2 separate regions of the Homo sapiens genome follow, and region 2 is linked to region 1. Evidence: promoter capture Hi-C in human tissues and cell types (Jung and others, 2019). All regions are on one chromosome and are shown on one strand. Each heading gives the region's core, a stretch centred on a gene start or on the middle of the fragment in contact. The rest is flanking DNA. Distances are from core to core; before and after follow the strand shown.

Evidence for each region. Contacts are between HindIII fragments. The study calls those that stand out against the background at their distance.
Region 2: a contact is called between a fragment that was not itself captured here and the fragment with the promoter of CDH20 in region 1, in 4 of the 25 tissues and cell types used here (IMR-90 fibroblasts, aorta, mesenchymal stem cells and 1 more).

The regions. Positions count from the first base shown.
Region 1 is chr18:61,331,663-61,335,050 of GRCh38, reverse strand. CDH20 (cadherin 20) reads right to left here and starts at 1,621. Exons shown (of 12, transcript NM_031891.4): 1 at 1,224-1,621. The HindIII fragment of the contact is 19,388 bases long and covers 1-3,388 here.
Region 2 is chr18:60,856,622-60,860,308 of GRCh38, reverse strand. No RefSeq gene overlaps it. Among named protein-coding and RNA genes, the nearest start is that of CDH20, 470 kb to the left of the region's middle. The HindIII fragment of the contact is 7,873 bases long and covers 1-3,687 here.

The DNA of each region.
Region 1 (3,388 bases), core at 372-2,871:
TTAGGTAGATCCAATTCCTTAGCTGAGTCCCTGACAGCACCACAGCTCTGAGTGGGTAATTTCCTTTGGTGGAAAGACACACATCAGAGACTGGAGGAGGTCCGGGGACATTTCATTTGAGGGGAGGCGGCTGCAGGTTCAATTTGCAGGCGATTTATAACAATCAGAAAAAAAATTGTTCCTGGTGCTCGTGCCAATAACAAGAGCATTAATAATAATAGCAACAACATAGTAAACTCTGAATCTACCAGGCGACCAACTCCCCGATTGTCTGGTACTATCCCCTCTCACTTCCAGCCTGGTCTCGGCAGAAACAAACAAAACAAAACAAGGCTCTGACGCTGCCTCCGGGCTGCCTTCCAGATTTCAGCCCCCACTGCTGCCCCAGAGGCGGATAGCTAGGCAAAGGCTGCTGCAGTCTCTCCGATTGCTAAGGACACGTTGAGAGTCCTCGGTAACGTTCTCTTTGCAAATCTGAAACTTTAGCCCCATTTGACCCCCTTGCCCCCGGCTCTTCCCCCAGAGTAACTACAACAAGCAAAAACCAAACAGCGAGCGCAATTCAGAGCTTTCCTTGGGAGTGTCAGGGCCCGAGGACAGGAAATCCGGGGAGTTGGCGAAGTCCGGCAGGTGGCGGGGACTCGAGTACCCACCACATTCTCCTCCCACAGCCGAGCTCCGGCGGGGGCGCGGCGCGAGGCACGGACCAGGGATCGGCCCCGTAGGTGCCTGCGCCTCCCCGGAGCCTGGCTCTCTGGTCCCCTTCCCGGCGCACATCTCTGTGCGAGGGACGCGGCCACCCTGTCCCCTCTGCAGGCGGAGGGAGGCGCCACCGCCTGCGGGGCCAGCGAGGGTGAAGCCGTGCCAAGCGCCCCCACAAGCCGCGCTCCTGGATCCCCAGTCACCATCCCCAGGCGCGCGCAGTCCCCGCTCCCAGCGCGCCACGTCCTCCACCTGCCCCGGTGCGCCCCAGCTTCCCTGCTTCCAGAGAGCAGCTCCCCCAGTCCCGGCAGCCCATTTCCAACCCCTTCTCCCACTAAGTCCGAGGAAGTCGAACTCGGAGCGGCCGGTAGGCTCGTCGAGGTGGCAGGGAGTTGCTGGGAGAGCACAGCGCGGAGAGGGACCGCGCACGCCGCCCGGGGATTTCGCCCCAGAGGGCTGGCTCCGCGCGCCCGGAGTCCCAAGCCCCAGAAGCGGGGCCCGACCCGAGCCCTCTGCGTTACCTGGCACCGCCGGCGACTCTCCGGAGACCTTCGGTCCTAACTGCTCCAGGGCGGGCGTTCTGCTCACGTAGCTGCCTCCCCCACTGGGCGGCTGGTGCCCCGCTGGGTCTCTTCACCCCTGCTCGCGGCGCTGTCCCCGCCCCCCACCCCCCTACCCCCTCTGTCAGAAGTGTCACAGCTTTTCTGCCTTCGGATGTTTCGCAAAGTCTCCGTGCGGTTGCCAGGAGTTGGGGGGTACTGCCAAGTGCACCAACCCCGCCGATGCCCTGCCCTGCCCTCCCGCGGCCACCGCGTTCGGCCTGTCCAGTGAGAAGAGCCCCCTGGTCGCGGTCACCGTCCCCCGAGCGTGGCGCGCGGTCCGCTTCCCCTCCCTCGCGCCTTCCCTAGCAGGAGTGGCTGCTGCCTGCCTGTACCGCGGGTCCTCATTCCCCTGCTCATGAATATTCTGACAGAGGCTAATGCCGCTGAAGTAAATTGAATTAGCCAATTGGTGCCAGGAATGTGCGCTCCTTCCTTCTGAGGAGCTGTCTGGAACCCCACCAGATGAAAGCAATTAACGTCCGGTTGGCACCCTGTGGTTTAGACCAGTGAGGGGCAAAATGGGTTAATTCTTTAAATGCAGTTTAGATACCGCATTTAAATGTTTCAACTCCTCTATTGGCTGAGAGCGTAAGGAAATGTTAAGAGGGAGAGAGAAGAAAGGGGATGTGTGGACGTGGGGAGGGGGGCGGGGGTATTTACATCTAAACTTTCCCCTGAAGTTGAGGTAATTATTTTGCACAGATTCTGGAAGAGGCAATTGAGGAGTAGAACAGGATAAGGCAAATAAAATCAGAAAGGAAATGAGTACCAACTCGGGTTTAACCTTGACCTTGAGGGTGCAAAAGACATTGTTTTCAAGAGGAGAGGTAGGGGAAGATGGCATGTGTGAGGGAAACCTCACTCATCGACTTTTAAGAATTTCTTCAAATGCTCAGATTTCCTTTTCTTTTTGTCCTCATAGGAAAATCTTAGAGTTTTAAGCCTTTAACTAGAGATGGGGTGGAGGTATATTAAGGGTCAGAAATTTCTGAGGTGGAAGCTGAGACCACCCTTCTCTCCCAGATGAAGGGGGTCCCCCAAATCACACAATACTGTGACAGGCCCATTCCAGAAGGCAATTCCAGCTCTTATTTCTGAGGTCAGAATACACAAGGTCAAAAGGAGAGATCACCTCTCTCCTGTCCTGATTCCTACCCTAGAATGTCAAGTTACTGACGACAACTTGGGTTTCACAGTGGCTGGAGGGGGACTTTTTGCCCGATGTGGTTTCTACATTTCTCTTCAAGCAAGGTGCTTGGAGGATTTCCTCCCCCATCACTGATTGTAATAGAGCAAGTTATTTTGATTGAATTGATAGGTTACTAAATAATCTATTTGTACAACTGCTCTGTGGCCAAATGATCAATGTGTGTAAAGAACTGATAAAATGATATATATAAACATCCAATAAGATTCCCAAGTGTGTGACAATAGAAATAGTATCCCAGTTAAGGCAGTCATGCCATATTTTAATAGCTTTCAGCAGGCCTAGAATTAGAACTCATAGTTATAACAATGATTATTAATAGCAGAATAGCTAATGTTTATGGAGAACTTGTTATGTGACAGACATGTGTTACACATGTTATTTCATTTCATTTTTCCAACAACTCTATTCAGTCTAGACTATTATTTCTCTATTTTAATAGATGATGCAGATGTGGCTCAATAAAGTAAGGGCAGTTGACCCTTGAACAACATGGGGGTTAGGAGCACTGACCCTCGTGTAGTCAAAAATCCGCATATAACTTTTCACTCCAAAAACTTAACTACTAATAGCCTACTGTTGTCTGGAAACTTTATGGATAACATAAGCAGTCGACTAACACATATTTTATATGCTATACATTTTATATGCTGTATTCTTAACAATAGTCTGGAGGAAAGAAAATGATACTAAGGAAATAATAAGGAAAATGAAATGTATTTACTATTCATTAAGTGGAAGTGGATCATCATAAAGGTCTTCATCCTTGTTGGCTTCATGTTGAGCAGGTGAAGGAGAAGGAGGAAGAGGGAGGCTTGGTCTTGCCCTGTCAGGGATGACAGATGGGAGAAAATCCATGTCTAAGTGGACTCATAGA
Region 2 (3,687 bases), core at 49-2,548, 470 kb after region 1:
CTCTTCCTAGAATGCACCAGGGATGCTTCTGCCTCAGTCTTTGAACTTGCAGTTCTGTGTTTGCTCATGTAGCCAAATGACCAGCTCCTTTATTTTCTTCAGAGCTTTCCTCAAGATTAGCTTCTTGGTTAATACCTCCCTGGATGCTTCATCTCAGCTTCTGATCTGAACCCTATTACTTCCTCTCCCTTTTCTTAATTTTTCTTGTTAGCACTTATCAGTTATAAAGCCGCTGCATTAGTCAGCTTGGCTTCCATAAAAAAACACCACAGGATGGTGGCTTAAACAACAGAAATATACATCCTCACTCATCTGGAGGTTCTAAGTCCCTATCAAGGTGTCAGCAGATTGGATTCCTGGTGAGAGCTGTCTTCCTGGCTTGCAGATGAGTGGCACCTTGCTGTGTCCTCACAAGGCCTCTCAATCTCAGAGAACTATCTGGTGGTGTCTCTTTATAAGCACACATGTCCTGTGGGATCAAAACCCTACCTAATGACCTCTCTTAATCTTATTCCCTCCCTAAAGTTTCTCTCTCTAAATATTTGTCACTTTGAGGGTTAGACCTTCAACATATGTATATTGGGAGGTACAAAATTCAGTTTGTAACAGCAGCCTTAATCGAATATTTCATATTTTGTTGTTCATTGTCTATTATCCTATTAGAATATAAGCTTCATGAGTGCAAAGACTTTAGTTTGTTTTCTTCACTGTTTTCTTCTAGCACTTAGAGTATTTCCTGTGGCATAGAGGATATTTAATAAATGTGTATGAATTATCTGAAATCCTGATGTGAAGTATAAAAAACGAGTTGTCATTTCATACCTAAAACATCATTTCAAAATCTTCAAATTATAAAATTGCACTACAAGTTTTTCATGAACAAGTATGTGTGTAGTAATATACTTTTAAAAATTGGAAGACTGCCAATGTCAAGACAATTAATTACTTCCCTGAAGAGCAGAAGGAACATGAAATTAGAGAGTGGTTAAAGCAGCTCTAACTGTAGCTATAATGAAATAAAAGATTTAACTTTTAAAAATAATACTTGAAACAAATATGAAAATTTTAACATTTGTGAAACCTGGAGATAATACAGGAATATGTGATATGTTTTCATTTATGTTTCTATGTTTTAAATATTTTAAGACAGAGAGAGATAAGTAGAGCTCCTATAAGAGAGAAGACCATGTCTGTTTTGTTCTTGCATGTACCTCAAACTCTTAAAAAGGATGATGGCCCATAGTAGAACCTCAGTGAATACTCAGTGAATGGATGAAGGTTCAGAATATTTAGGCTTATTTATCTTTGGTTCCGAACATAATACTTGGTACATAGGTACAGATAAACAAATACACAAGCAAATAAGCAAGAAAACAAGTAGATGAACAAAAACATGTTTAAAATGATAAACAAGTCTCCCTAAGTGTCCTAGCCTCATTCTTCCCCTCTTTCTGTTCCTTTTATACTACTTAGCAATGCTGTATGTGTCTTGGCTTCCCAGTTCTGCTATCTCCCTCTCTGTTCTCAACCCTCATTTACTTTTCTGCCAAAAGATACAAGCAGAAGCCACTGGAGAAAGAGCTTGGGGGACTAGTATGGTTTATGGTCAAGGCCCTGGCCTTCTGTATCTTCTCCATACACTGTGAAGGCATTTGGGACCCCTCTTTGAACTTGAACTTCTGCATGAGTCCTCCCTCATTGGTTCCGATGGATTGTTTTGCCTAAAACTGCAGTCCTGTGGACCTTACAAAGAGTGGCAACAGAAACCTGTTCTTTGCAGCTCTGCTTAATTCATGCCAAAACCCGTTGTTAAGATGACTTTCTGTCCAGTCTCACAGCCAAATGCCCCACATTTGGCCAGATAAAGTCTATTTTCTCCCAAAATTCCATATACAGTTTCTCTTAAAAAGAAGTGTGCTTCTACTTTTTCTAATAATCTAAAAGTCATGTATTTATATTTACCTTTCACAGGTGATAGATTCTAGCAAAACTTGAGAGTCTCTATGTTCCTTTATTTTGCCTAATTATGAGTACTTTAAGTATGTTTGGGCCAATCTATCTAAGTCATTTCTGCCTTAATTTGATACAAACAAGCAAAAGTCATGTTATTAAGGGGACTGTGAAAACATTCAAAGAAAGTCATTCTCTCTCACAGACTCTCGGTCCACGTTAATTAGGAAAACAACAATCAGTCTTTCACATTCACATCTCTAACCTTTTATCTCTTTTCATACTTAGCCATGGGGAAAGTGATGACTCTAGGGATTAAAAAGATAAAAGAATTTAGAGTTATAAATTAAGATCCTTTATCTGATAAATACCAAGCCAGAAATTAGAACCCTCAACCTCACAAAACCCGAAAAAAATAGATTTCTAATGTATTAAAGAAGTTTAAAAACTAAATCATAAGGAAATGAATAATATATCAAGTATTTGTCAGATCTCCAGATGGTAGACTTTCTTAGTTTAAAAGTGACAGCAAGCACACATAGAAAAAAGTGGACTATTTGGCTGCATAACCCTTTAAAACTTGTGTATGATTTTTATTTCAAAAAGACAAAAATACAGAATTGAAAACAAAAGATAAACAATAAACTGAAGAAACTATTTGAAACAAATATAGTATCTTTTATTATAAAAAGAGTCTATTCCTATTGATGCCAAAACACTAAGACCCTTTAAGCTAATAAAAAATCGAACAACCTGGGCAGCCAATTCATAAATGAGAAACTACATTTATTATAAAAGTAAATTTAAAAATCCACCCACTTATTAATAACAAAGGAAATCAATTTAACAAAAAACATTTAAAGTAATATTAAGAAATCTGTTCAAATTTGGTTAAGCAAGTAATATTATATATTACTAATGGGAATGCAAATTGAATTACTGTGGAAAACAATCTTAAATTTAAAAATGTAAAAGTCTTCCTAATTATTGACCTAGTAATGCCATTTCTCAGAATTTAAGAAATCGTTCTAGTTTACAGTCCCACCAACAGTGTAAAAGTTTTCCTATTTCTCCACATCCTCTCCAGCACCTGTTGTTTCCTGACTTTTTAATGATCGCCATTCTAACTGGTGTGAGATGGTATCTCATTGTGGTTTTGATTTGCATTTCGCTGATGGCCAGTGATGATGAGCATTTTTTCATGTGTCTTTAAAATGATGAGTTCATGTCCTTTGTAGGGACATGGATGAAGCTGGAAACCATCATTCTCAGCAAACTATTGCAAGGACAAAAAACCAAACACCACATGTTCTCTCATAGGTGGGAATTGAACAATGAGAACTCATGGACACAGGAAGGGGAACATCACACACTGGGGCCTGTTGTGCGGTGGGGGGAGAGGGGAGGAGGGAGGGATAGCATGAGGAGATATACCTAATGTTAAATGACGAGTTAATGGGTGCAGCACACCAACATGGCACATGTACACATAGGTAACAAACCTGCACGTTGTGCACACGTACCCTAAAAGTTAAAGTATAATTAAAAAGAAAAAGAAATGATTCTGAATACAGGAATTTAAAAAGCACCTTTATAGCCAAAGCTGTGCACCGAGTATTAATCATCACAGTGGAAATTTGAAAATAGTCTCCTAGGTTTCTGGATTATTTTAGCTATAATATATTACATTCATTTATGGCTATATATTTAAAAAAAGCCAAAGACAGAGTAACAATG